Regions from separate parts of the Homo sapiens genome. Here all the other regions are linked to region 2. The links are contacts of gene promoters, found by promoter capture Hi-C in blood cells and fetal thymus (Javierre and others, 2016). All regions are on one chromosome and are shown on one strand. The core of a region is centred on a gene start or on the middle of the fragment in contact, and the rest is flanking DNA. Distances in the headings are between cores, read along the strand shown.

Region 1 (5,872 bases), core at 3,207-5,706, 530 kb before region 2:
AGTGTCAGTACTTGACATTTCTTTATTTAATCTTTTTTGGCCAGACAGTTTTTTCAATGAGGAATGTGTAAGCTATTCCGAAATGTCTGTCTAAGAGGCCAGTCACCCTCATTACTGGGATTTTTCCACCATATCTCTTTTAGAAAAGGGTCTGTAACATTTTATATTTATTTCTTAATGGTGGAGCACTTTAAACGCATATTTACATGTATAATCTTGATTGAACTTCAAAATAACTCTGTAAGGATGGGCAAAGCAAGGGTTGTTGGGGCCTAAAGATGAGGAAAAGGTGGCTCAGAGAGGTTCAGCACCCTGTGCAAGGTCACAGAATGGGCGAGTACTGACCTGGTTCAGCACTTTGTCCCAGGAAACCTCCTCCGCGTCTCCACAGAGTGCTGGGCATTTCAGGACAGCTCAGCTGCAATTCTGCTTTTCCAGTGGAACATCCTTCTCTCTTCCACGTATGAAACTTTACGAAGCACTGTGGGCTTTTGAAGACTCTAGTCTAGGCTAAGAAGGATCCTCTCTCAAGAAGATTCCAACCCAATAGTCATTAAAGCATATGTTTCGTCATCTCCCAAACCAAAGGCATATATCTTTTGTCCCTTTTAAAAGTTTAGGTAAGGAATGTGTTAAAAGTCTGCCTGTTGCCGGAAATGGTGGCTCATGCCGGTAATCCCAGCACTTTGGGAGGCCGAGGCAGGCGGATCACGAGGTCAGGAGATCGTGACCATCCTGGCTAACACGGTGAAACCCCATCTCTACTAAAAAAAAAAATACAAAAAATTAGCTGCATGGTGGCAGACGCCTGTAGTCCCAGCTACTCGGGAGGCTGAGGCAGGAGAATGGCGTGAACGTGGGAGACGGAGCTTGCAGTGAGCCGAGATGCGCCACTGCACTCCAGCCTGGGCGACAGAGTGAGACTTCGTCTCAAAAAAAAAAAAAAAAAAAAAAAAAAATTCTGTGTGTCCGGTTACATGGTGGACATAACAAAAAAAAAAATGGGAAAAATTATTGTTTGCATTCCTTCCACTGTAACATGGTAACATCTAGCGATCGGCAAGTGGTAATGCAGAGTCCATTCACCTTTCTTACTCCTCGCCTCCTCCCATACCTAAAGGGCTGTTCATTTTTTAAAATCCTTTTTTATTTTTATAAATTTTGAGGTATGATTCATACACTATGAAATGCATACCTGGCTGGGCATGGTGGCTTACACCTGTAATCCCAGCATTTTGGGAGGCTGAGGCAGGCAGATCACTTGAGGTCAGGAGTTTGAGACCAGCTTGGCCAACATGGTGAAACCCCGTCTCTGTTAAAAATACAAAAATCAGCCAGGTGTGGTGGCAGGTGCCTGTAATCCCAGCTACTTGGAAGGCTGAGGCAAGAGAAGCACTTGAACCTGGAGGCAAGGGTTGCAGTGGCAGGGGTTGCAGTGAGCTGAGATTGTGCCATTGCACCACTCCAGCCTGGGTAACAGAGTGAGACCCTGTCGCAAAGAAAAGAAAAGAAAAGAAAAGAAATGCATAGCTATTAAGCGTACAGTTTCACAAGTTTTGACAAATGTATACCTACATCCAAATCAAGACACAGAACGTTGCCATCACCACTGAAAGTTCCTGGATACCCCTTTCCAGTCAACACCACCCCAGGCCTCCACTGTCCTAATTTCTATCACCATAGATTAGCTTATCCTGCCTCGAACATCAGATAAATGGAATCATATTATACGTATAATCTTTTGTATCTTTCATCTGTCACTCAACATATCTGCCAGACTCATTCACATTGTGTCAGTAGTTTGTTCCTTCTTATGAGTAGTATCGTCATTTATTCAGTTCTTAAAATCCAGCCCTATTACCACAGATTTGTCCCTCAAAATTCTTTTCATTTAATATATCTTCTGCATGCTCCTTTCCGTGCATGTATCTCCTGCATATCTCCCTGGCAATCCTTGTAGTGAGGAAAATATGTAAGTGGACTATTTTATCTCTAGCACTGTCCTTTTAGGTATGGGTGGCTCTCTCTACCTTCAGGAAAAACAGATAACCAGGCAGTCTTGCTTCAGAGTTTACAGATCTGGGTTTTCATTTCTTGTCTAGCACTTAACAGATGGGTGGTTCAGGGCAGGTGATTTAACCTCTCTGTGACTGTTTTCCCATTTGTAAATGTGGATAATAATACCTTCTTAATAGGGATTTGTGAGGACAAAATTATATTGTACATAGAATGTTTGGCACAATGAAAACTAATAATAGCCTCAAGCTAGGCTATAATAAACATCCTCTCCTGCTTCATTCACATACTTCCAGGTTTGTAAGTCATATGATACAAGTGGGTATAAATTTTCAAAAGTTTTTAAAAGGAAGATTTCATATTTAGATTTAGAAAAGTCTATCAGATATTTACTTAAAATAAGTAACTGTTATTTCCTAGGGAAAAAAGTAAAGCCTTCTGTCATTTATTCATTGGCAATTATATATCGAGTATTGACTAAGAGAAGCTCTTCAAAAGAGTTAAAAACATAGCCCTAGCTTTTAGGATGTTTGGTTTGGGGAGGGTAATAAGATAAGCACAACAAATTATAATACAAAATATAGTAAATGATAATAATAATAATTAACATCTATGAATGTAGTGGTTAAGAGCACAGTCTCTGGAGTCATACTATATGGGTTCACATCCCAGCTGTGTGATGTTGGGCAAGTTACTTAACCTCCTTGTGTGTAACCTCACCTGGAAAATGGGGCTAATACCACTTACCTAGCAGGGCTACAGTATCAGAAAAAAGTGGCCCAGGGTGTTTGAGCATCCTGTACAAGGTCACAGAATGGGTGAGTACTGACCCGGTTCAGTGCTATGTCCCAGGACACCTCCTCCGCATCTCCACAGAGTGCTAGGCATTCCAGGACAGTTCATCTTGCAATTCTAATATTGTATATTGCATATAAAAATATGCATTAATTAACAGCTAACATGTATTGAATATCAATATGTGCCAAGCACTGTGTTAAATGCTTATGTGCATTACTTCACATAATCTCCACAATGCTGTTACTACTATTATACTCATTTTACTGATAAGGTAACAGAAGGGCAGAAGTTTAGGTAACTTGCCCAAGATTACATAGCTAGTAAGTAGCAAACTGTGTCACAGAAAAGATACAATCATCTATAAAATGGGGATGATGGTATTAGTACCTACATTAGTGAGAATCTGATGAATTAATATTTGAAAAGTGATTAGAACGGAGCCTGGCACCTAATAAAGCCTATATATGTGGATGTTAACAATTGCTAAGGTGATTCAGAGATGACAGTAAATAACTTCTATGCGTGGTGACTAAGGAAGGCTTGGGAAGGTGATGTTTAAACTGGGCCCTGAATAGTGGACAGGATTTGGAGAAATGGAGGTGATAGAGAGGGCATTTCTGACAGGGAAGGAAGGGAGGGAGGGAGGGAAGAAGGAAGGAAGGAAGGAAGGAAAGAAGGAAGGAAGGAAGGAAGGAAAGAAGGAAGGAAGGAAGGCAGGAAGGGAAGGAGGGAAGGGAGGGAGGAAGGAAGGAAGGAGGGAAGGAAAGAAGGAAGGAAGGAGCAAGAAGCAGAAGAAAGCTCAGAGTGTGTAAAAAGAGAAAAAGAAAAGAAATACATGGGAGTAGTCAAATTTGACTTGCGCAAAAAAAAAAAAAAAAAAGAACAAACTTCCCCTTTCTTCCAACCAGTCCCTATTCCTGCTGTACTTCTCAGTATTTTCCTCTTATCCCCATGGAATCTGCTGTCCTTACTCCCTCATCATAATGATCCATTGAATATTTATTGAGTTCCTCTCCGTGTCAGGCACTGCTCTAGGCACCGAGGATACAACCCAGTAAATAGGCCGGGTCCCAGTTCCTAGTTTGCACTATAATAATCCTCCAAACTGGATTCTAGCTTTTAGCCGGCCGAACTCCAATCTATCTTCCACAATACCGCCAGAACCGAAGACACAGATCTGGTCTGGACACTCACTTGCTTAAATCCCGCTGCAGTATTTTCTCTTTACGTCCAGAATAAATTTCAGTCTCCCTAGCATCCTTTACTAATTGGTTCGCACAGTCTTACCTCGCAGCCTTCACCGTGCACTCTGCACAAGAGCCCCGGTAAAGCACTGAAAATCCCAGATACACACACTCACAAATAGGCACTTGCAGAAAGAACGTGGGGGGCACTCCATCCCTATTTCATCTCTTGTACACCGAAACATTCCCCAGTCTGCATGCCTTGGATGGGAGAGTCCTGGTTACATTCCCCCGCCCCCGACTTTTCAAGCCTAAAATCCGTCACAGGGCGCACCCCCGTCCCCACCCTCCAGGGCATTTCCACTTATAGCAGCCTGGGCACACCCCCAACCCAGAAGGGACCGGAAAAGGAGGGGCTGCGCGCGGCACTAGGGTCGCCGTCCTGGCTGAGGTGGCCGGAAGTGGCCCCTCGCGCGGGCGCGGACTGAGGCTGCGCGCCGCAGGTTCCGGCTGCTGGCGGCGTTGCGGCCGCAGGTTTGACTCCCGTGCGGTGCGGCCCAGCAGCCACAAAGCTCCCGCTGCCATTGCTCCTTGTACTCCCGCCGTCACTGCCGCTGTCCAACCCCTCCCCCGGGGCTTGCGCGGCGGCTCCCACACCCCTCGGCCCGTGTACGCGCTCTGCACCTGCCTGCCCGAAAACATGTTGCAGACACCAGAGAGCAGGGGGCTCCCGGTCCCGCAGGCCGAGGGGGAGAAGGATGGCGGCCATGATGGTGAGACCCGGGCCCCGACCGCCTCGCAGGAGCGCCCCAAGGAGGAGCTTGGCGCCGGGAGGGAGGAGGGGGCTGCGGAGCCCGCCCTCACCCGGAAAGGCGCGAGGGCCTTGGCGGCCAAAGCCTTGGCAAGGCGCAGGGCCTACCGCCGGCTGAATCGGACGGTGGCGGAGTTGGTGCAGTTCCTCCTGGTGAAAGACAAGAAGAAGAGTCCCATCACACGCTCGGAGATGGTGAAATACGTTATTGGAGACTTGAAGATTCTGTTCCCGGACATCATCGCAAGGGCCGCAGAGCATCTGCGGTATGTCTTTGGTTTTGAGCTGAAACAGTTTGACCGCAAGCACCACACTTACATCCTGATCAACAAACTAAAACCTCTGGAGGAGGAGGAGGAGGAGGATCTGGGAGGAGATGGCCCCAGATTGGGTCTGTTAATGATGATCCTGGGCCTTATCTATATGAGAGGTAATAGCGCCAGGGAGGCCCAGGTCTGGGAGATGCTGCGTCGGTTGGGGGTGCAACCCTCAAAGTATCATTTCCTCTTTGGGTATCCGAAGAGGCTTATTATGGAAGATTTTGTGCAGCAGCGATATCTCAGTTACAGGCGGGTGCCTCACACCAATCCACCAGAATATGAATTCTCTTGGGGTCCCCGAAGCAACCTGGAAATCAGCAAGATGGAAGTCCTGGGGTTCGTGGCCAAACTGCATAAGAAGGAACCGCAGCACTGGCCAGTGCAGTACCGTGAGGCCCTAGCAGACGAGGCCGACAGGGCCAGAGCCAAGGCCAGAGCTGAAGCCAGTATGAGGGCCAGGGCCAGTGCTAGGGCCGGCATCCACCTCTGGTGAGGGTTGGTGAAAAGTTGGCCAGTGGGTCCCCGTGAGGACGAACTACTGTCCTGAGTCATAAGTAATATGGGTGGGGCGAGGGTCTTATTTCTGTAGAAATCGTGTGACTTTAAGGATTTAGATTTTGTATCTTATGTTTTGTAACATTTAATAATTACTGTTAAAATGCTGTTTGTAAATGAGATTGGTCTACTTTTTCCTGTAGGATTTTATTGTAGAGTTTTGCTGGTTTTGTAAAATGGATGGAAGA
Region 2 (6,117 bases), core at 2,001-4,500:
CTCACCTGCAGGTAATTCTCCAGCCACAGGATGGCCCTGACATCCAGCATGTTTGTAGGTTCTGGAGAAGCAGGGGAGCACACACTTGGGATTGAAGGGCTGGAGAACTAGGAACTTGGATGCTACCACCCCTGCCCATCCTAAAGTCAGGGTGCCCCATTTCAAACTCACCATCTAACAGCAGAAGATCTGGCCTATGAAAAACAATACATGGCCTGAGGTTTTAGGTCAGCAACTCATGCCACCTCCCAAGAGCTAAGACCAATCTTCCATAGGGCTTCATACACTGGCCCAGGAGACTCACCTAGCAAAGAGGGCCCGGGCCAGGGCCAGCCTCATCCTCCAGCCACCTGAGAACTCCCTAAAGAATGATGGAGTCACATTATGGGTGGGTGTTCATCAGGGCAGGAAGGGGCTGAGACAACAGGGTTCAAAGCCAAGAATGGCAAGGGTCACTCACCGGGTGGGCTGCTGCTGCATTTTAGGGGTAAAGCCAAGCCCAGCGAGAATGACTGATGCCCTAGTAGAGAAGAAATCGAAGAACTCAGTTGGAACAGTCCACAGAAGGGAAAGGAAATCTGAAGGAGGGAGGGGGAGCTTTAAATACCTGGCAGGTGCCTTGTCAGCCTCAATCTCCTCCAGTTTGGCATAGATTTCTGCCAGCTCTGCAGCTTCAGAGCCCTCCGCCCTGGAGGGAGGAGAAACAGCAATTGGCCTAAGCAGGGGCAGTCTAGGAGGATGTCCTGCACCCTATACCGTTGGAAAGGCCATTGGCTACCTTGTGGCTGGAAGAGGAAGAGAATACAGGAAGGGTTTGCACAGTGCTCATTACCTTGGGCACTATGGAAATGGGCACTGTGGAAAGAACAAGAAAGGGCAATGGGCACTGTGGAAAGAACAAGGGCTTCTGAGTCCCAGAGTGCCAAGTTCTAAGCTCTGCTGATTACTAGGATGTACATGCAAATTATGGATTGTTCCAGGACGGCAGGCGCTCTGTAAGCGACAGCGGCTGCTAGTTACTCCCTAGCCGGGAGTCCTCACCTGCCAGCAGCAATCTGGGCAGTGAGCTCCCGCTCCCTCCGTAGCAAATCCTCTCGCACACTGTCACTCTCCAGCACACTCTGCAGGGCAGGAGTGTCATCTCCAGCAACCTCTTGCTCAACGTGCAGCAGGGAAATGTGGGCTGGAACCCGCAGACTCCGGGTGGCCAGCATCTTCAGTAACGTTGTCTTCCCCAACCCATTCCGCCCCACCAGCCCGTAACGGCGGCCCCATGCCAGGTTCACATCCGCTCCAGCCAGCAGTACTCTGCAGGAGTGGAGAAAGGAGACCAAAGATGCTCTAGAAATAGGTGCACAGCAAGTTTAATGACAAACCTAACATTGTTTATAGCCCCGTTTCACCTCTCCAAATTGTCCTCTAATTAGAAAAAGAAAGCCAACCCCTGCCACCACTATTCCCTCACCTATCGCCAAAAGACACATCAAAGTTCTCAATTCGCACATCATAGGATTTGTTCTTGCCAGATGATTCCAACCGACTCTCCTTTCTGCTGCCTGCCTGGCTGGCTGATGCCTCTTCTAAGACTCTTTAAAGGGAGAAATGGACAGCTCTTAGTGCTCCCCACCACCTTCTGTCCAGGCAAAAGCTGCTCTGCTCTCTTCTGAGCCATGCTTCCCCCACTCACAGAGGGTTGCTGGTCTTGAGCGTGTCCTTCTCTGAGCGCTTCTCCTGCTTTGCCTTAAGTCGAGCCTCGGCCTTCTCTAACTTCTTTGCATTCACTGTCTAAGGGTCCAAACACATCGACTTCACTCTCGGGTGTAGGCTCAGAAAGGAACCCCAAGAGAGAACATCTCGAGTAAACCCTCTTAACTTACCCATGATGAACAGACTCAAAGGCTCAGGAAAAGACATAGTCAGAAATCCCCCCAAAAGATACTCCAATTAGACAGTCAACTCCCAACCCCATCACAGACAGTCCCCTCCCTTGCTTCCTCCTCCTCACCGAGGACTGTTCCCTCTTTAGCAGTCCTGGAAGTTTGGTTCCACAGTCTGTAAGCGATAAGAAAAGCAGTCACCTTCTCCCTGAGGGAAGGGAAACTAACATTTTGAGTGACTAATAGGAACCAGGCACAGACACAGATGTTTTCTACAAAACCTTATAATACTGCAGATAGATGGCTATTATCTTCCCTGCACTAAAAACAAAACAAAACAAAACAAAACAAAACTCACGTAGAAGGATACAGAGGCATAGACAAGGCTGGGGACAGATAACCAACTCTTACAAGATCATGCAGCTGGTTAGCAAGTTGCAAAACTGGGGGTGAAAGCAAGTCTGTCCAGCTCCAGGCTCTTATGCTTCCTATCCTACCCAAGAGCTTGGAGGGAGAACCCTCCAACCTCCTCCCCACCCCCATCATGGGCTCTTCTGCCCTCGGTAAAGACATCAACTAGCTCCTACAACCTTGTCCTGTGGAAAAGACGTAGGAGCCCTAAGCTGCAGGCAGCAGATGGTTGGGGGCGGAGAAAAGCACAGGGGGGCAGTTAGTTCAACCTCCCCTCACTCTCACCGTAGTTCTCCGTTATCTTTGACAACTGGATAGGGGCGTCCAGTAGCACCTGGCTATTTCCCTGGCTTTGTGGCTCAGCCCTATGTGGGTAGGGATAGAAAGCGCAGAGTTAGGAGTTGAGGGAAAAGCTCTATGGCCATCAGATCTTCCTCCCCCACCTCTTGTCTCCGGACCGTTCGCCGTCCCTTCGCCCCCATCAACCCCTACTCCCTGGCACATACAGACGCAGAGTGTTGTACATGCGCTGGCACACGGCCCTGATGCCCGCGTCATCCTTGCTGTCCCCGGACACCTCTTGCAATAGTTCCCCTACAGCTTCCACCAGGTCATCCACAGACTCGAAGTCCGCGCTGCCGCTGTGCAAGACGCCTGGGCAGGGCGTGGTAGAACGAGGAAGGTATCGGGTAGGGTGGACACACAAGCAGTTTCAGACCCCAGACAGAGGCCCCAGTCCAGGCTCCAGACCCAACCAGCCCCCGGGACAAGAGGTCATGCAGAGGAGAGGCCTGGCAACAGTCCCGGGCACGACGCTCGCTTAGACTTTCCCCCGGCCTCCACTTCGGTCTCCCCAGCCGGCCGATTCAGTTCTGCTTACCGGTCACGTAGTCGAAGACTTGTCCGTCAATTTCGGGGAACTCGCTCCGCAGGATTTCGGCGCAAGTCGCCATGTTCCACTCAGGAACCCGTCCGCGCAGTCGCTGTGAGACCCCGGCCTAGGCCCGCCCCCCGCCCTGCCCCCGAAATCTCGCCCTTCCTTGCAAGGCGCATGTGTAGCGGTGACGCAGGAAAGGAGCGGAGTGCGCAGAGCCCGGTGGGCGGGGCGAGCGGGGCCTTGAGGAGAGGCGCCGAGTCTGCGCCGGAGCCGCGCTCTCTGCGCGTGCGCGACACCTTTTCCGCTGAAAGATTAGCCACATGTGCGGTTCTCGCTGCCTTCTGGGAGGTGGAGTTCCGGGAGCGAGGGGTGGGGCAAAGGCTGGGAGCTCAAGGTTTATCGGGGCCGCGAGGCACCCGTGGTCTGGCGGGTGGGAGCCTCCCAAGAGGCAGGCGGCTGATAAAGCACTTTGGCTTTGCCAGGTTTTATGCGCTCCCTCGAGGCGCGTCTGCTGCTGGTGCGTACCCAGTCAGGCCCATTTTGGAGCCTGCCCAGAGCTTTGCTGACTCACCCCGGTCCCTGACTCTCAGAAGCCCCCTGCTCAGTGCTTTGCTTTCGCGGGTCCCCAGACCCTACGGGCTTCTCAGCCTGGTGGCCAGCGCCACCCGCCTCCCCGCCGCGACCGCCTTTTCACTGTGTAATTCAGCCGACCTTTGTGAATTAAGCCCATTCAGTTCTTCCACCACCCCAGGGCACGACCAAATCCACCGCCAAAGGGCAAGAAAACCAGGACAACGTGGCCTGTATAAATTATTCCCTACCTACACCCTGAGCAGACTTCTCTGCACTCAATAAATGCCAATAAAAGGCTATTTCCTTTCACCGATTCCCTCGGGAAGTTAGGAATTTCCTCCAAAATGATGCTACTGCTTTATATTTAACGTGAATATTCCTCCAATTGGTCTCTAAAAGTGGCACCGAAAATTACATTATTACCCATTCATCCCTTTGGATTAAACATTGCCATCATGAGGCATCAATCCCGATATTGAACCATTTTACAGGAAATACAGGTAAAGAGGAATATGTTAAGTGACTTCATGGGGACAACAGGCAAATTCTGATGTGGTAAACTACAGAACTCTGGTTTCTTCCACAAAATTGCAAGACCTGAAGGGAAACATCAATTTTTAAAATTTGAGGAGCATTAACCAACCACAATGGACCTTATCTGGAAAAATTTGATAAGACACCTGGTTAAGTGAACACAAACTGGATGTGATATTAAGGAACTGGCCACGCATTGATCATAGTTGAAGCTGGGTGATGAGACATGGAGATTCATTATATTCTTTTTTTTTTTTTTTTTAATTTGAGAAGGAGTTTCGCTCTTGTTGCCCAGGCTGGAGTACAGTGGCGTGATCTTGGCTCACCGCAGCCTCCACCTCCTGGGTTCGAGCGATTCTCCTGCCTCAGCCCCCGAATAGCTGGGATTACCGGCATGCACCACCACGCCCGGCTAATTTTGTAATTTTAGTAGAGACGAGGTTTCCCCATGTTGGTCAGGCTGGTCTCGAATTCCGGACCTCGGGTGATCCACCCGTCTCGGCCTCCCAGAGTGCTGGGATTACAGTGTGAGCCACCGCGCCCAGTCCATTATGTTATTCTCCTTGCAAATCTTTCCTCCTACCACCCAGTCAGCAAGATTTGGGAAGCTTGGGTAAATGATGGAATTAAAAGGTCAATTTCTTAGGATGGCTACAAGACCAAATGTAAACTTCACACTTAATTTATGCTTAATCTAATTAGAAAACATCTGCCTAAGAATTAGAGAAAGAGCTGGGTGCTGTGGTGGTGCGTGCTTGTGATCCCAGCTACTCCAGAGGCTGGGGCAGGTAAGATCTCTTGAGCCTAGGAGTCCGAGGACCAGGGGGAATAAAAAGGAGCTAGGGAAAGAATCTATCCCCAGGGTACTGGGGCCCGCTGCGGCTGCATGCCCTTGAGGCTTTCTAAGAGGAGCCAGGAAACCTGGGCCCAGAACCCACAAGGATAAGGGCTTGGATGGCCCAGGAGGGGCCTAACTGGGACAAGACAAGGAAAGAGCCTTTAGAGTATTCAGTACAGAAAACTGCACGGAGAGCAACACCAGTTCCCTCCCCATGTAGCTCCCACATCAACACTAAGCCAGCAACTCCACTCTACAGAGTTTATTGGGTTTGTAACTGGACGAAGTCACACGTGTACAAAATGAAGCTCACACTATCCCAAAGCAGAGTAGGGACTGAGGCCGGGGATCCATTACTGGCCTTTGGGGGAGCTCTGAGGTGAGGGGCAACCAACCCTCCCACTCCAGAGCTGTGGCCACAGGGGTGGGAAGGAAAGGGAACCCACCTGGCTTTGGTCACAGAACTCAGAGCCTGGCATTAGGCCAGGACAGACAGGTGGATGGGAGAGCAGGAGCCTCAGAACTCCCCTGCCCAGGGAGCCCAGGGGCTGCTCCACCGGTCCCACTTGTAATGTGCTTGGCCCAGACCTAGACTCGGGCTGGTGCAAAGGGAAGGCAGCAAAGCAGGAGGGAGGAGACACTGATGTGTGGTGGGGGAGGGAGCGGCACCTGGACCTGTGGAGGAGGGTGGCTGGGGAGGTGGGCTAGCTGCCTAGTGGCAGCTAGCAGCGAGTTTCATAAATGCCACTGCGGCCAATGTAGCGCACCCATTTGATGACATCATGGTCGCTGTAGTTCAGCTTCGGTTCAAACACCTTCAAGTAGCGCACCTTGAGGCCAGAGGGCGCGAATGGCACCTGGGCAAGGAGAGCTAGTTAGAAATGTGGCCTTCCTCTTACAGCCGCTCTCCTCTGGGAAGTCCCGTTGCCCTGCCCTACTTCATCGCTACTACAGGTGTTTGTATGGCTGGGGTCCTGAAAGAAGCTGGGGCGGCGTGGGACCTTCTA
Region 3 (5,422 bases), core at 764-3,263, 760 kb after region 2:
TCCCTCCTTTTCCTCTCCTCCATTCCTTCTCTTCTTCCTTTTCATGTTTCTCACCCATAAGGACCCGGCCTAAGCCAGGAAGCTGAGGTTACTGGATCTTCAAAGTGGCTCTGACACTCCAAGTCCAACATACCCCACATCATTGTCTTCTTTACTAGGCGTTGGTTTCTGCTGACCAAAACTCACAGTTGGCTGTGACTGGGCACCAGGGTTCTGACTACTATCAGTAGGAAACATCTCATTTGGTTCCTTGAAAATTCTTGTGACCCTTGAACGCCGGAAACATAATTCAAAAGCTGCCTCCCCTCCTGCGGATCTTTAACCTTTCTTTTTTTTTTTTTTTTGAGATGGAGTCCCATTCTGTTGCCCAGGCTGGAGTGCAATGGCACGGTCTTGGCTCACTGCAACCTCCGCCTCCTAGGTTCAAGCAATTCTCCTGCCTCAGCCTCCCGAGTAGCTGGGATTACAGGTGCGTGACATCATACCCAGCTAATTTTTGTATTTTTAGTAAAATGGGGTTTCACTATGTTGGCCAGGCTGGTCTTGAATGCCTGACCTTGTGATCCGCTCGCCTTGGTCTCCCAAAGTGCTGGGATTACAGGCGTGGGCCACTACGCCCGGCCTTTTAACCCTTTTTTGAATCTCTTGCAAAAGGTGGTTGTGAAAATGGTTGCTCAGTGGCCGGGCATGATCACTTGAGTCCATGTGTTTGAGACCAGCCTGGGCAATATGGTGAAACTCCATCTCTAAAAACGAAAAAAAAAAAAAAGAAAGAAAAGAAAAAGAAAATCCTTGCTCTGTTTTGCAGGCAGAGTGCAAAGTGCCCAAACTTCACAGGGGGAAGAACCTCTCCACAAATCTCATGACACAGGTGAACTGACCTCGCTTCTCAATCACAGCCCACAATTGTTAGAGAAAGCATTAAAAAGGGCTGGGCGCGGTGGCTCACGCCTGTAATCCCAGCACTTTGGGAGGCCAAGGTGGGCGGATCACGAGGTCAGGAGATCGAGACCATCCTTGGCTAACACGGTGAAACAAACCCCATCTCTACTAAAAAATACAAAAAATTAGCCGGGCGTGGTGGCGGGCGCCTGTAGTCCCAGCTACTCGGGAGGCTGAGGCAGGAGAATGGCGTGAACCCGGGAGGCGGAGCTTGCAGTGAGCTGAGATCGCGCCATTGCACTCCAGCCTGGGCGACAGAGCCAGACTCAGTCTCCAAAAAAAAGAAGAAAAGAGAAAGCATTAAAAAAATACCCTCAGCCCCCTGTGATGGGTGGCTACTCCTAGAATTTGGATCCAGGGTGTTTGCGGCTTGGCTTTTTACATATCGAAGAGGAAAGAGATGGCTGAGAACATCCGCCTGGGTGGTCCCGCCATTCCGCCTGCTGAGTATTCAGGGACTCCCGCTGTAGAAAGGATTGGGGGACAACCTGACCGAATTCGCATTTGCTCAGGCGTTTCCCGTAGCGCTCTGCTGAACTGGGGTTAGTCTTTTGCTGCCAGTCAGAAAGTGTCTGGGCCCAACTAGGGAAACCACGGGATAATGGGCTGATGGGGAGGAGGACCAGCATGGAGGATGTGCCACAGCCCCTCCAGAAGGTAGCACTGGCGTGCCTGACAGGTGACAGACGGAGCAGAGGCAAGGGCGCAGCTGCACGAAGGAAAACGCCCACATAGGGGGTGAGCGCGCCCACGCGTGCTCAGCCTTGTCGGAGCGCAGCCCGGGCGCCGGGCTCCCAGTGCAGGTGTGGCCAGCGGAGGTCAAGAACTGCGTGGAACAACCCCAAGTGGGGGAAAACACACGCCAGCCGCCCCCGGGGTCAGGAGGTGGGGCAAGCAGCGGCGCCTCACCCAGCCTCCCGCTCCGGGTCCTGCCGGATGGCGGCAGCTCTCCGGGCCAGCCCCCTTCTCTCCGCGGCTCCTCCGCAGACACCCGGCGCGGAAGAAGGAGGGGCGGAGACCTGGCCGGCGCGCGTCTGATGATCCGGACCCCGGTGCGACTGGAGCGCCTCAGTCACTGTCTCCCCGCCCCACGGTTCCGAGTAAGGACCGGAGCTCCACTCCGGGGGTGGAGCGCGGGCTCCCCGCAGGGAAAGGTGCGCAGCGTTCCCGACCCCAAAACGAGCGGCGCTTGGGAGCGTGCGTGCCTCCCCGAGAGCCCCGGGCGCCACCCGTGGGCTGGACGAGGTGGGCGCTGGGGCGTGGGGCCGGCGGCGCAGAGAAGCCACGGCCACCTGCCGCCTCCCCTGCACCTGGCGGAGCATCCCTCACTCTACAGTCCCTGGAGGCGGCGCCGGAAACCTGGCGGCCGGGACCGCGATTCTGGAAGCCCCGGAGCTCGCCCGGCCGGAGGAGCCGGGGCGCGGTTCCGGCGAGATTGGCGACTTGCTTCCTTTTGCAGAACGGCCGCTCCTCTCTCGGTCCAGCTGCGACGCTGGGAAAGCGCCAGACTTGGTCTGTCACGGGAGCCCCCGCGGGGCGTGGCGAGGGAGAGCTGGCCTAGGCTGCGAGGGACTCTCGTTTCTTGCCTGGAGAGCCAGGAAGAGGGCGAGGGCAGAGCATCCTTGGGCGGAGATGCCTTTAAAAAATCATCCACCGCAGCGGTAGAAACAGTTTTGTTTGGCTTTATTTATACGGAATGGTTTTTCAGTGAAATGCTGTCTTGCTTAAAAGAAGAGATGCCTCCCCAGGAGCTCACCCGGCGACTGGCCACAGTGATCACTCATGTCGGTAAACGAAGCTTTAATTTTTCCTGCGTTTTATTAATGGCGGGTGAGGATGGTCTCTGGGCTTCATCTGGCTCCTGGCCTCACCCGCTGCCCCGGGGCAGCGCGCTTCCTGGGGGGTTGCCCGGCATCTGGGCCTCGCTGCTCTGGGTCCTGCCTGCGGTGCCCAGCGGGGGGCATCCCTGGGGCGCGCCGCTGGTGGGGGTCGGGGGGCCGAGGCTGGTGCCTTCACCAGGTGGTTGCCGAGTCCGTTGAGCTCCAAACCGAGGGCTGCTGGGCTGTTACCATCCGTTAGCTGCTTCTGACGGGAGTAGGGTGGGTGGGAAGTTATGTTCTGGTTTTGGGGATAGTGAGAAAGGAGAGGGCATAAGAGGAACGAATGCCAGTGCTTTTCAGCAGAAATGATTGCCACGCCACTGAAGGCTTGTTTATAAGAAAGTGCAGGGAGAGGCAGGTTACATGGGAGCGCCCCTGCGCAGCTCGGCCGCTAGGCCTGTTTTACTGTGCTGCCTGGAGGGTTAAGCACACCCCTGATGATCCCCGCGAGAAATCTCTGCAAGCCAAGGAGACTGAGCAATTTTAATCTTCTTCCCTGAGTTGAAAAGAGGAGCAAAACATGCATTGCTTGCTCCTGAAATAAGGGTTGTGATGGAACGTCAGGCCCCACAGACTAAGTAAGGGCAAGAGGACATTGAGACAGTTCCCAGTCAGTTTTTTCTTAGCACTTTCTTCCCCTTGGCCTTCCCTGGACCTCCCTCAGTAAAGACACACATTCAGGTTCAGAACCTCTGGATGTGGGCAACTGGAATTATCGGGATCATTTTCTCTGTTGCTGACTGTGCTTGGAGGTCCTCCCATGAATGCAAATCAGCTTTTATTGATAAAGCCAGGAACTATTTGCCTTGGTTTTCTACACATTTGTGAAAGCTGCTTTCTTGGTACTTGCATGTTAAATGTTGCCTCAATTAGTCCAACGTGTTTGCTGTAATAATCGTGCACATCTCAAATGATACACTTGTGAGGACATACTTTGTAAAGATGATTTATATGGGAAGGCCCAGTTTTGATAATTCAAGTTTAGAAAAAAGTTTCTGGTGCCAATTGTGGGCACTGAACTTTTACGACAAAAGATCAGTAGGATCCTACCAGGTAAGGTTGAATGTGAAATATTGCTGAAGGCAGTGTGAAATAAGAGGAAAAAGAACTTGTAATGAAACAGAATTCGGAATCTGCAATATGATGAAAGTTGAAATGATTGTGCTAAAACCCAGCACAGGCATGAAGTTGTGGTATAGAGAAAGAGCAGTGGACTCGGGGTGTGACCGTCTGGATTTGAATCTTTCCCTGGACAAGTCATTCGACCTCAGGTTGAAAAATAGGAATTTTAATAGTACTTTCCCACTCAGCTCAAAGGCTACTTGTGAAGATAAGTAAGATAATTTGGGTAGAAATACTGTGTACACTGTGATTATACAGACATTTCAGTTATTAGACATATCCCTGGTCCCTCTGTCACGCCACTAAAGATCTTTGGTGGGTTACTGGGCCTCTCTCAGGGCGAAGCCTCCCATCTGTTAAACGAGGGGTTGACCTGGATGATTTTAAAGGTCCCTCCTATTTCTCTGGAGCAGGCTCTTCTTGAAAATCTGGCAGGCAGTATTCCTTGACTAACACTTAGCTGCCTGTGGCGCCCAGGCTATGGTATTTTCTTGCCTACCTTGCTCCCTCCCTCCTTCTATAGACAGCTCCATGCAGGATACACATAGGAATTTGTTGTAGTTTCTCCTTTCAACCTCTAATGACCCTTGGCTTTTGTGTGCTTTGCAAGATTCTGTCTCCTCATACTTAATCTAATAAAACCTGTGAAATGGGTGGGGTACTCATTACTACCCCTATTTTACAAATGAAGGAATTGACTCAGAGAGGATCATCTTTTTTGTTTTTTTTTTTGAGATGGAGTTTCGCTCTTGTTGCCCAGGCTGGAGTGCAATGGTGTGATCTCGACTCACTGCAACCTCCGCCTCCCGGGTTCAAGCGATTCTCCTACCTCAGCCTCCCGAGTAGCTGGGATTACAGGCATGTGCCACCACGCCCGGCTAATTTTTTTTGTATTTTTAGTAGAGACGGGTTTCTCCATGTTGGTCAGATTGGTCTTGAACTCCTGACCTCGGGTGATCCGTCTGCCTTGGCCTTGGCCTCCCAAAGTGAGAGAGGATCATCTTTTAAGGTTTCAGGGGGAGTGAGTGGCAGGCTCAGGGCAGGAAGGTAGCTCTTCATATCCCCTACTGGGGGACCTCAAGGTGGAGCGGGCGTTTCTCTAACCCTGCAACAGCCTCAGCCTTCACGGAGGGTCACTTTGGGTAGCCAGTGGAGCTTCTCAAGGGTAGATTGGCTCTATGCTTGCCTGTTCTTTTCAGGTATTTCCTTATCAAGTAGCTTCTGAGGAGGTGATCATGAGTTGGGGAAGGTTTGAGAGGTGCTTGGAGCAAGGCTTTGGGTTGGAACATTCTCCGGGTCCTATCCTAGCCACTTGCCAGGGTAGCCACACTGTCTTCCGTATTCACTCGGCCTCCTCTGACCCTGAGTCACTTTCTCCTCCAGCAGGGGTTTCTGCTCTTTCCATGTCCCTTAGACTTGGTAATTGAGTCATCTCTCTTCACCCACTCCCATATTTCCATAAGTGTCTTGGCTGCTGT
Region 4 (5,753 bases), core at 3,094-5,593, 630 kb after region 2:
AAAAGTAAATGAAAAGAAAGCAGGAGTGGCAATAGAAACTCCAGACAAATCAGAAAATTATTTAAAGAAAAAAATTAACAGGATAAACAGGGATATTTAATACTAATAAAAGGTACAATCAATAGCAAGGATATAACAACACCGTACTTTGAACAGAGATTTAGAGCATTAAAATATATAAAGCAGAAGAGAGTGACTAGGGAGTAAGGTTTGATATCTATGTATAGGAGAAAGGTCACAGAAGCTGGGGATAGGGTATGGCATGGAATCTGTGTTGACCCTACCTCTTTCAGTGAGGCCCTCTTAGCTAAGCAGGAGGCCACCAGTGGGGCCAAGTGGGAGTCCTGGAGCCCAGCTCTGACATATGCAAAAATCTTAGACCCTCTTGAATTCCCACCTTTCTCCTCCTACCCTCCTGTCCTGTCTTACCTCAGTCTCCTTCATTCACCTGGCTTCATCTCTGCTTCACCTTGACACTGAAGTCTAAGGGCAGATTCAGTTTAACTAACTGGACCCTCCATAGTTTTTTTTTTTTTTTTTTTTGAGACGGAGTCTCACTCTGTCACCCAGGCTGGAGTACAGTGGCGCGACCTCGCCTCACTGCAAGCTCTGCCTCCTGGGTTCACACCATTCTCCTGCCTCAGCCTCCCAAGTAGCTGGGACTATAGGCGCCCGCCACTACACCCGCCTAATTTTTTGTATTTTTAGTAGAGATGGGGTTTCACCGTGTTAGCCAGGATGGTCTCGATCTCCTGACCTCGTGATCTGCCCGTCTCGGCCTCCCAAAGTGCTGGGATTATAGGCGTGAGCCACCGTCGCCAGCCGACCCTCCATAGTTCCATTGAACACAGCTTAACATATGACTTTTTTTTGCTTTTTTGTTTTGTTTGTTTGTTTGTTGAGACAAGGTCTCCGCTCTGTTGCCCAGGCTGGAATGCAGTGGTGAGAACATGGCTAACTGCAGCCTCCACCTCCTGGGCTCAAGCAATCCTCCCGCCTCAGCCTTCCAAGTAGCTGGGACTACAGATGCATGCCACCATATATGACTAATTTTTTTATTTATATTTTTTGTAGAGATGGGGTTTTGTCATGTTGCCCAGGCTGGTCTGGAACTTCTTGGCTCAAGCAATTTTCTTGCATTGGCCTCCCAAAGTGCTGGGATTACAGGCGTGAGCCACCACACCTGGCCCAAGCATATAACTTTTGGAAGCTGACCTTGGCCGCCTGCCAGGTCTCAATTTAAATTCATGACTATTAATCTTAAAAAGGGCGAGAAAGGAAAGATTAGGTCAGATCAGAAAGTAAAAATTTGCCCTCCCATTCATCAGGCTAGGAAGTCAGACACAGATGAAACATTAAAAAGAAACAACGTTTCTTCAAAGATTAGGTCAGATCGGAAAGTAAAAAATCTGCCCTCCCATTCATCAGGCTAGGAAGTCAGACACAGATGAAACGTTAAAAAGAAATAACGTTTCCTTAAGTGACTCCTTGCAATTATAAATGTGTCATAAGGATACCCTTCGTGGGTGACTACTTATTCTTACTGAGAAAAATTGTTTTCTAAAAATCACAGACCATCAGAAACTTTGTTGTTTGCCATTGTGTCAGTAAGAATGAGATCTCATAGTTGTCTGGAAGATCTAAATCACTTTGACACTGGGAAGCAGTCTCAATTTCCAACTCAGATACGGGGCTTCTGAATACAACATTCCACATCTATCTCAATTTTGTAGTTTCCAGGGAGAAAAGACTTTGGGTCCACTGTAAAGTCTAGACTTAATGTTTATCCTTTTACAGATAGTCCCACTGTGCTTTGAACCTATCTTGATACTGTTCATTTACATTTAACCTAAACTTGGGGCAGGTGCGGTGGTGTGAGCCTGTAGTCCCAGCACTTTGGGAGGCCGAGACGGGTGGATCGCTTGAGCCCAGCAGTTCAAGACCAGCCTGGCCAACATGGCAAAACCCTGTCTCCACTAAAGATACAAAAAATTAGCCAGGTGTGGTGGTGCATGCGTGTAGTCCCAGCTACTTGGGAGGCTGAGGCAGGAGAATCGCTTGAACCTGGGAAGCGGAGGTCGCAGTGAGCTGAGATCGCACCACTGTACTCTAGCCTGGGCAACAGAGTAAGACTCCGTCTCAAAAACAAACAAACAAACAAACCTAAACTCCAAATTTTCTTGTAATTTTTATTAGAGTAAAATAAACCTATAAATGTATTCGGAAAGAATTGGTCCTTTTAATAATATTTAGTCTTTCCATAAAGGAACTTGGTATATTTATTTAAGTTTTCTTTCGAAACTCTTAGTAAAGTTTGTTAGTTTTCTTTATGTTGCTGGTTGCTGTTATTGCTAGGCATTTACATATGTTTTATTACCATTGTGAATGGCATTATTTTTCCATGACTTTTTTTTTTTTTTTGAGGCAGAGTTTCGCTCTTATTGCCCAGGCTGGAGTGCAATGGCACAATCTCAGCTCACTGCAACCTCCACCTCCCGGGTTCAAGCGATTCTCCTTCCTCAGCCTCCCAAGTAGCTGGGATTACAGGTGTACGCCACCGCGACTGGCTAATTTTTGTATTTTTAGTAGAGATGGGGGTTTCACCATGTTGCTCAGGCTGGTCTTGAGCTCCTGACCTTGTGATCCCCCTGCCTTGGTCTCCCAAAGTGCTGGGATTACAGGCATGAGCCACCACGCCCGGCCGTCAGGTTTCTTTATATGCTCCATTATAATCTTTTGGGACCACAATTGTATATTCAGTCCATCATCGATTGAAATGTCATTGTGCTGGGCATGACTGTACTTGTGACCGTTAATTTTAGATGTCAAGTTTACTGGGCTAAGAAATACCTAGCAACCTGTTAAAGCATTACCATGGGGCGTGTCTGTGAGGTTGTTTCCAGGAGAGATTAGTGAGTCTGAGTGGACTCGGTAGAGAAGATACACTCTCAGTGTGGGTGGGCACCATCCAATCAGCCAGGGGCCCAGAGAAAACAAAAACAGAAGAAAGGTCGATGTCTCTATCTCCTGAGGCTGGGATACAGTCATCTCCTGCCTTGAACAACAGGACTCCAGGATCCCCTGCCTTTGGACTTCAGGACTTACACCAGTCTCCCCACCCCCTGGATTCTCAGGCCTTTGGCTTTGGACTGAGAGTTATACCATCTTCTCTGGTTCTGAGGCCTTTGGACTTGAACTGAGCTCTCAGCAGTCTGTCATGCGACTTCTCAGTCTCCATAATCACGTGAGCCAATTCCCCTAATAATTTCCCTCTGCTATGCCTCTCTAGGTATCCTTTTGGTTCTGTCTCTCTGGAGTCCATCATCGACTGAAATATCATTATGCTGGGTATGACTGTAATTGTAATGGTTAATTTTAGATGTCAAGTTTGCTGGGCTAAGAAATACCTAGCAACCTGGTAAAGCATTACTGTTGGGCGTGAGAGAACGCTAACTGATACGCTCCTATAACTTCCCCAGGATATCATGGGATTTTAATAATGACAGTTATTACTACTTAACTGAGACATGCAGAGGTAATGAAAATACTTCAGGATCCACCGTTAGATGCACGGTCAGTAGATGTTGGGCTAATCTGAGACGTGCTATGGCAATTCGGTGTAGACCCACCCTGACTCATCCTCTGAGAAGATGCTGTTGATGGAGTTTTGGAAACCATTTCTTCTGTGCCCCCAAAGCATATTCGAAACAATAGACATTTTTTTTGGTGGGGGAAGACATGAAAGTTTGCCATGACGTTGTTTTCCCCTGGGTAGGGAGGAGGATGAAGATAGACGATCTGCAGTGCCGCCAGAAATGAGAATGTCAGGGATAAGTGGGGTTTCCATGGTTTACAAAGCACGGTTGTTGGATCATTGTGGGGTCTCAGACTCCTGGGAGGAGGAAGTGGGAGGATCATAGACTGTCTCCTGTCCATCCCCTCGCTGACGACTTGGGTTATTGAGCCACTAGGAGTACAAATGTGAAGCAGGAGGATTATAGACTGTCTCCTGTCCATCCCCTCATTGACGACTTGGGTTATTGATAGCATTAGGAGTACAAATGTAACAGCCACCACCGGAGGCTTCCTGCTCACGGATATGAGGTGGGAGATGCACCAAAATAAACACACAGCACTCACAGTGGACTCTGAGAGGACACTCCTCTTCCAGAACCCCCTCCCACACACCTATTCTAAGTAATTTCTAACCCTGTGATTACTCACAGAAAGAAGAAGAATAGAAGTTGCTGGCATTTGTAGTAACAGGATGAGAAAGTGCGAGACTTCCTGTTATGTGTGTGTGACAGCTGGTGATAAGTGGAGGGCCCTGCACAGGAAATCCGCTCAGCTCCTGCAATGGGGCCTGCCTGACACTTGGGCGCTCCTTCAGTCTCGATGTTGATGGCAGGACAAAGGGGCGCCTGGACCATGGGTGATGTGGTCGAGAAGAGTTTGGAAGGGCCCCTGGCACCTTCTACAGATGAGCCCTCCCAGAAAACAGGAGACTTGGTCGAGATCTTAAATGGGGAAAAGGTCAAATTTGACGACGCGGGACTCTCCTTAATTCTTCAGAATGGCCTGGAAACCCTGCGAATGGAAAACGCTCTGACAGATGTCATCTTGTGTGTGGACATTCAGGAATTCTCCTGCCACCGCGTGGTGCTTGCCGCAGCCAGCAACTATTTCAGGTCAGCATGCCTAGGACCAGAGTCAAATTGGGTGCAAGTTGCAAGGAAGAGGTGTGTTAGTGTGAGAGCCCAATCTTGAACAGTTGGCCATGATATTTATGGTTTACATATATATTAAGGCTTGTGTGTCTACTTAAAATATAAGAAAGGACACTATCACACTTTATTTTATTATTTATTTATTTATTTATTTTTGAGACGGAGTTTTGCTTTTGTTGCCCAGGCTGGAGTGCAATGGCGCAATCTCGGTTCACCGCAACCTCTGCCTCCTGGGTTCAAGCGATTCTCCTGCCTCAGCCTCCCGAGTAGCTGGGATTTGCAGGCATGCACCACAACACCCGGATAATTTTGTATTTTCAATAGAGATGGGGTTTCTCCATGTTGGTCAGGTTGGTCTTGAACTCCCGACCTCAGGTGATCCACCCGCCTCCGCCTCCCAAAGTGCTGGCATTACAGGTGTGAGACGCTGCGCCCGGCTTATCACACTTTAAATTTTAGGATTTAGGCCACATTAAAAGAGAGATTGGCATCATTTAAAAGCAATGCTTACATTCTATAGTAAACCTTTTGTGTATATTTCCTTGTTCCAAAGGATGGAAAATTACTGAAGTCATGGGGACTTTTTTCCCCCTTGGTCTGACTGGTGTTGGAAACATAATGTTGTCTTTGTTAATCAACAGACATAGAGAAAAAGGATGTGGCCCCTCTTCTGGAGTTGTCAAATGACTTGTTACAAATTAGGGGCTTCTTTATGTGTAGGCAGTGTGGGGAAAGGGAAAGCAGTTACAAAGATGCTTTAGATGGGAGAGGCCTCTAGTTACGATAAACTGGTGATCTCATAGTGGGAAGGCCTGAAGTCAGGAGACTTGGTTCCTTCTTGACAGTGAAACTTTAGGCAAGTCACAAAGTGCTCTGAATGTCTGTTTCATCATCTGTAAGGTGAGCACAATGATGATCACCTTTCAGGGCTGTCATAATTAAACAAGAGCGTGAAAAGGGTCCTACACAGTGTCTAGCATATAGTAAGTAGATGCTCAATATATCTTTCTTGGAATTCTTTTTCTG
Region 5 (6,117 bases), core at 3,457-5,956, 630 kb before region 2:
TAACTTCTTGCTTCACAGTGGGCACAGAATAGGAGATGGTCAGCTGCTGTTCTATGTCTCAGTTCTCACATGCCTCACACCCAAGCAGTTCACGTCACCTGTGCTCAAAATAACAAACGCCATGCAGTTCCAACATGGAAAAACAAGATCTGGCCGTATGGGGCTTCCTGAGAGACCCACCGCTTGTCAGTCTCTGATATGACTCCCTCTTGGGGTACTTTGAGGGTACTCAATTTTCACCTTATTCATTTAGATACAGACCCTATTTAGAGAAACATTACTATATACTGGGATGGGCTGCTTTACTTGACCCTGGAATTTCTTTCCAAGAAGGCACATTTAGGTAATTGTAGCTCACAGTGCCAGAACTGCCACGACGAAAAAGCCCAACCCTCTGTTTCTCTTTCTGTTGTTGGTGAATGTCTAAATGAGGAGAGTGATCATAAGTACATACAGATTAAAAAATGTTAAAAAGAAAAGTAAGGGGAAGGAACAGTGCCTAAGACCTTCCTGTATACAGTGAGTGCTAAGTTACTGCTATGAATTGTCAGACAATCAGCTCCAGCCTAGAAAAGAAAAATCTAATCCCCTATCACAATATACAAAACAATAATATGAACGAAGTCTACAAATATCTAGATAATGTAGAAATTCTAACTTTATTGATCAGTTTTATATCAATATGTGTGTGAGGTAATAAGTGAAATAAATAACAGAGAAAAATGATCACTTCCAGCTTCTATAATACTGTCTCCACTATCATGAGAATGTCTCTTCTCAGACCCACTTCAGCTCCAAAGAACTCCTCCTAAAAAGCACAAGGGCCTTGTGTACGCTGAAATATATTCCCTTTTCTTCTTCACATAACTGACTGATGCAGGTAAATTCTTGTAAGTTAAATGCGCAAAAGACAGGATTCCACTTAGGTAAAGGCTGAGTAGATGATGGCCTTCTTTATTAATTTGCAATTAACTGTCATCTCAATTTCTCTTGGTTAGGTGTCAAGAAGGATATAGAGTCATGAGAGATTTATTCTTTTTTTTTTTTTTTTTTTAAGAGCAGGAAGTAACTGGAAGCGTCTTGCTGAACTGCAACGGAAAAAACAAAGGTTAAAACACCCCAGCACCACTGCCACCTTTCCTGGAGGGCAACTGCTTCTCCTCCATTCCAACCATGTGATTTTGGTGGTGCTGCCAATCAAGTACCCTATCTGCCTAGCTAGCGGAGCAGAAGAGTAGGCACATCACATTCTTGGGTCCTATGTGGCCAATCAAGGTACTTCTGGAATTTCTCTTTATTCTAGGGTGCTTAATCTTGGATGGCATAACACAGGAGTCATCTGCAGTCACATCTTTTATGCATTTATATACAGTCATGTGCCCCAAAAAGACGTTTTGGGTCAACGACAGACCACATATACAACCATGGTCCCCTAACATTACACATAATGGAGCAGAAAAATGCCTGTAGCCCAGTGATGTCACAGCTGTTGTAATGAATGCATTACTCATCTGTCTGTGGTGATGCTGATGTAAACAGACCTACCGCACTGCCAGTAGTATAAAAGCTAAGCACATACAATTATGTGCAGTACATAATACTTGATAATAAACTATGTGCCAGTTTATGTATTTGCTATCCTATACTTTTTATCTTTAGAGTGTACTCATCCACTTATTTAAAAATTTAAAAATTAGCTGTAAAACAGTTTCAGGCAGGTCCTTCAGGAGGTATTCCAGAAGGCACTGTTATCATAAGAGATGACAGTTCCCTATGTGTTACTGCCTCTAAAGACATTCCACCGGGACCTTCCTGACTCTGTGTAGGCCTAGAGTAATGTGTGTGTTTGCGTCTTCGTTTTTAAAGATTAAAATTTTTTGAAATAGAAAAAAGCTAACAGAATAAGGATATAAAGAAAATATTTTTGTACAGCTAATTGTACAATGTGTTTGTATTTTAAGCTAAGTTTTATCACAAAGAAGTTAAAAACTTTTTTAAATTAAAAAGTTTATAACATAAAAGTTACATTACAGTAAGCTAAGGTTAATTTATTATTGGAGAAAGAAAAAATTTTTAATAAATTCAGTGTAGCCTAAGTGTACAGTGTTCAAAAAGTCTACAGTAGTGTACAATAATGTCCTAGGCCTTCACACTCACTCACTACTCACTGCCTCACCCACAGCAACTTCCAGTCCTGCAAACTCCATCCATGGTAAGTGCCCCACACAGGTTCACATTTTTCAATCTTTTAAACTGTATTTTTACTGTACCTTTTCTATGTTTAGATATACAAATACTTGGCCATTGTGTTACAACCACCTACAGTATTCAGTACAGTAACATGCTGTGCTGGTTTATAGCCTAGCAGCAACAGGCCATCCCACATAGTCTAGGTGTGTAGCAGACTACACCATCTAGGTTTGTGTAAGTACACTATGATGCATGCACAATGACAAAATTTGCCTAACCACACATTTCTCAGAACATATCCCCTAACTGTCCCATGACTGTAACAGGAAGAATGAGGCTTGCAATTACAGTTGCAGAGGAGATAGGGAACTGGGGGTTACTGGTCCTTTGCAGAAAGGGAGAGAGACACAAGTACTCCATCACTGGAGTCACTGGATTTAGTGATATAGTGATACCCCAGCCCCTTCCAGGTTTGGAGCCAATAAATCCCTTTTAGCTTAAGCCCATTTGAATTTTCTGTCACTTGCAACAGAAATATCTTTGACTAAAAAAGTATAATTGCTATTACAGTAAACCTAAGAAATTCATAACAGTGAAAAATCCAACGCAAAGCTATATTTCCTTGCTAAAACACAGAACACATTTAATAATGTCATACAGCGTGAAGATAAGTCAAATATTCATTCAAGATTCAGTTAAGAATACAACAGTTTGATCTTACCACTATGTACCGATGACACCTACAGCTGTGGATCAAGAGAACATACGATCTAAACTCTATGAAAGCTATCAATAGATCCAAAGTTAAACATACTTCATTAAATTCAAAAGATCTTACTTCTCATTCACATACATAACTGACATTTTGTGTCACACTGGTTGAAATGTCAATGGAATAGTGAGATACAGCTAAGAATCACCAACATGTCCCAATATTCTGGAAGACAGAAAACATCCATCTGCTGACAATGGTCCAGATACGAAGCAAATATATTAAATATAAAGAAAAAATCAACATATTACTCTGTTAGAGCTCTGGAAAGAATTTTCTCACAAATGCCTCTTTGACCATATAAAGCCCAGTAGTTCAACGAATTTTTTTTCCATTTATCTTTATTGCATATTCTATGGAACAGGCCAGCTATTGCCAGAGGATTCAATACCTATTCTGTGCTTAAATTTAACCATGAGCAAACCCACGTCTTACACAAACATATGCAGATTCTCCATCCACATTTATATTAGATATACCTCAAACCCACACAGGCAGACATAGACATACACAGACAATTAACATGTAATTGTCTCCCAAATGCAGACATTTGGAGTAAGGTTTAGCACCACAAGCTAACATCCATGCTTGTTTTGCTTGGGTTTTGGGGTTTTTCAGTAGGGGAAAGTAGAGTATGGTAGAGGGTGGATGGTGCAGAGGCCAGAAGCCTTCCTATTCATTCTAACAAGAATCTAAGAAGTGGAGGGGGCCTGCTTATTTAAAGAAGGCTCCCCAGCTAGCTATTCCTGATAACCCACGGCCATGGAACCTCTCACCGATCCTACCTCCTCCCACCCTATCCTCCTGTAAAGCACCCCCATTTTGTACACCCAGACACTCTGAGCAGCTGTTTCCCTCCTTCCCCAGATGCCAAGCACAAAGAACTGGCCAAGGCACAGGAGTAGCCTCGAACTTCAGAGGCCCACCTTTCACCCTGCTGCCCTCACTCTGGTGCACAACTTGCACGCGGAGACAAACTGGAACCAGCCTCACAGGGTGCGCACCGATCCTAAGAGGTGGACACCCCATCTAAGCCTCAGGCTCAGGCACCTTGATATCAGTCCCTGGAGGCTAAAGGGGTCCACACCTGTTTCCCAGGCCCGACAGACCGGCTACACACCTGTTCCGCCCGGGAGTGGGGAGGGGCATGACACCCGCCGCCTAGGCTCACAGTCGGGGGAGCGGGCGCGCCAGTCCCTCAGCCTAATTGCCGCACGACTGTAACAGGACAGAATGAGGCTTGCAATTATAGTCGCAAAGTAGATAGGGAACTGAGGGGTTACTGGCCCTTTGCAGAAAGGGAGAGATACACAAATACATCACCGGAGTCACTGGATTTAGTGATACCTCAGCCCCTTCCAGGTTTGGAGCCAATAAATCCCTTTTTACTTAAGCCCATTTGAATTTTCACATTCATTTGGAACCAGTAAGTGGAAATTGCCCGACCCAGTTCCGGGCCAACGTACGACACGCCCCTCCACTCGAGAATCAACCCCGCCCGGCCCGTGGCTCGGGTCCGGTTAGCCCGTCAGGGGCTGCTCTGTTCGCTCCCCGAGGTCCCGCCGCTGTCGCGCGGGGAGGAGACGCCGAGGCTCAGAGACCTGTCGCGCGCTCTCCTCCTACCCTGAATACGGCCCCTCAATCCTGTCTCCTTCCACGGGCCCGCTCTCTGGAAACTCGTTACCTGAGCTTGCTGCCATTCCGGCCGTGGACCGCCGGCCCACGTGACCGCACCCACTGCTCTAGCCTCACGCACGCGCACTACCTACCACTGCGGGCAGCGCTTCCGCTTTCCTCCTCGCACTGCTCCCCCTCCTGGGCGGTCCGCGCCTCTTCACCACGCCCCTATTTAAAGGGCCAGAGATACGCCGTCTTCCCCCCTACGGAAAAAATGGGTGATTCACATCTTGAGGACCAAGAGAATGGAAACGTCGAAAGAGTAGCGCAGACAAATAAATAACAGTCCTTGAGGTGAGAGGAGAAAGCTCCTCCTTTAAGAAAGTGAACTTACTTGCAGCCAGCCCAGAAGGGAAGTTGATTCCCTGCCTTTTGGAGTTTGCAACCAGTAAATTTTTTTTAACTTTTTTTTTTTTTTAAAAGATGAACTCAGAATTGCCTATTTATTGTGTCAAATAAGTACAATAGGCACACACATACTAAAATACCAACTATTATCTTGTAATATATCATCAGTGTTGCTCCCCAAAATACATCTTAACACCAAAAATACAGGAGAAACATAGTCTCAAATAAAGGAAACATCTGAAAAATGAACAAAAACGTATGCTTATTTCTCTTATCGCTCCTGAAGAAAGGTGAAAGCTTTCAGAACAGACTGGTTTCTAGAGTCATCACTGTACGTAACATTAGCCCCAGGACACAGATTTTAGGCCTGCTGGGGGCTATATAGGTCAAGAAAACAGGAGGAAGAACACCAGAAGATACTCTTGGAAGGAGATACAGAAAATATTCGGTTGGGCAGACATTTTTGAGCATCAGCTAGGTTCACTAGACTTCTGGGCCTTCAGAAGACCCGAAGGTGTTGCCCTGTCCTCCAGGTATTTATTTTCTAAGAATTCAGTGTACAGACATAACAAAATACAAGGCAGGCTGTTTTGAGTAATATAAAGAAAGACATTGAACCACCATTTTCGCACAGACAGGGGGAAAGGGTGAAACACTCAAGGAAGGATGTGGTATCTTGTCAGGGCCTTGAAGGATTTCAGTAGCAGAGAGCAGGGAGAATGCCTAGCTGAGGGAAGGGTGGGATCAAAGGCAGTACAAAGCAAGTTTGGGAACTAGTTATTGGCCTGATGTAGCCGTGGTGTGGCCAGTGGCTTTCAACCTTCTTTTAATCATCCCTCACAGTAAGAAATACATTTCAGGCCAGGTGCGGTGACTCATGCCTGCAATCCCAGCACTTTGGGAGGCTGAGGCAGGTGGTCAGGAGTTCAAGACCAGCCTGACCAACATGGAGAAACCCTGTCTCTACTAAAAATACAAAAATTAGCCAGGTGTGGTGGCATGCACCTGTGGTCCCAGCTACTCGGGAGGCTGAGGCAGGAGAATTGCTTGAACCCAGGAGGCAGAGGTTGCAGCAGTGAGCCAAGATTGTGCCATTGCACTCCAGCCTGGGTAACAGAGTGAGACTCCGT

What was found. Contacts are between HindIII fragments. The CHiCAGO score rates a contact against its expected background, and 5 or more counts as called.
Region 1: a contact is called between the fragment with the promoter of MAGEF1 here and the fragment with the promoter of ABCF3 in region 2, in 1 of 17 cell types (non-activated CD4 T cells). The highest score is 5.8, in non-activated CD4 T cells.
Region 3: a contact is called between the fragment with the promoter of MCF2L2 here and the fragment with the promoter of ABCF3 in region 2, in 12 of 17 cell types (activated CD4 T cells, fetal thymus, total B cells and 9 more). The highest score is 13.4, in activated CD4 T cells.
Region 4: the fragment with the promoter of KLHL6 here is called in contact with the fragment with the promoter of ABCF3 in region 2 in 8 of 17 cell types (fetal thymus, erythroblasts, total CD8 T cells and 5 more); the score reaches 10.9 in fetal thymus.
Region 5: a contact is called between the fragment with the promoter of VPS8 here and the fragment with the promoter of ABCF3 in region 2, in 12 of 17 cell types (total B cells, non-activated CD4 T cells, activated CD4 T cells and 9 more). The highest score is 18.4, in total B cells.

The regions. Positions count from the first base shown.
Region 1 is chr3:184,710,648-184,716,519 of GRCh38, reverse strand. It overlaps MAGEF1 (MAGE family member F1), which reads left to right and starts at 4,456. Exons shown (of 1, transcript NM_022149.5): 1 at 4,456-5,872. The coding sequence starts at 4,699. The coding sequence ends at 5,622. It overlaps LOC107986163 (a long non-coding RNA gene), which reads right to left and starts at 4,277. Exons shown (of 5, transcript NR_160768.1): 1 at 4,102-4,277; 2 at 346-1,489. RefSeq lists an enhancer at 5,197-5,256. The HindIII fragment of the contact is 12,590 bases long and covers 1-5,872 here.
Region 2 is chr3:184,183,332-184,189,448 of GRCh38, reverse strand. ABCF3 (ATP binding cassette subfamily F member 3) reads right to left here and starts at 3,250. Exons shown (of 21, transcript NM_018358.3): 1 at 3,169-3,250; 2 at 2,795-2,942; 3 at 2,574-2,653; 4 at 2,006-2,052; 5 at 1,688-1,785; 6 at 1,466-1,588; 7 at 1,042-1,308; 8 at 608-688; 9 at 461-520; 10 at 305-361; 11 at 172-194; 12 at 6-61. The coding sequence starts at 3,241. AP2M1 (adaptor related protein complex 2 subunit mu 1) reads right to left here. Exons shown (of 12, transcript NM_004068.4): 12 at 5,358-5,967. The coding sequence ends at 5,833. RefSeq lists enhancers at 2,946-3,265, 3,743-4,457, 5,751-6,117. The HindIII fragment of the contact is 6,180 bases long and covers 1-4,882 here.
Region 3 is chr3:183,425,210-183,430,631 of GRCh38, reverse strand. It overlaps MCF2L2 (MCF.2 cell line derived transforming sequence-like 2), which reads left to right and starts at 2,013. Exons shown (of 30, transcript NM_015078.4): 1 at 2,013-2,730. The coding sequence starts at 2,655. RefSeq lists a silencer at 2,184-2,263. The HindIII fragment of the contact is 2,747 bases long and covers 1-2,742 here.
Region 4 is chr3:183,554,296-183,560,048 of GRCh38, reverse strand. KLHL6 (kelch like family member 6) reads left to right here and starts at 4,343. Exons shown (of 7, transcript NM_130446.4): 1 at 4,343-4,688. The coding sequence starts at 4,396. The HindIII fragment of the contact is 8,561 bases long and covers 1-5,753 here.
Region 5 is chr3:184,810,755-184,816,871 of GRCh38, reverse strand. VPS8 (VPS8 subunit of CORVET complex) reads right to left here and starts at 4,706. Exons shown (of 48, transcript NM_001009921.3): 1 at 4,647-4,706. RefSeq lists silencers at 2,396-2,445, 2,456-2,545 and enhancers at 4,579-4,778, 4,839-4,888. The HindIII fragment of the contact is 6,000 bases long and covers 1-5,286 here.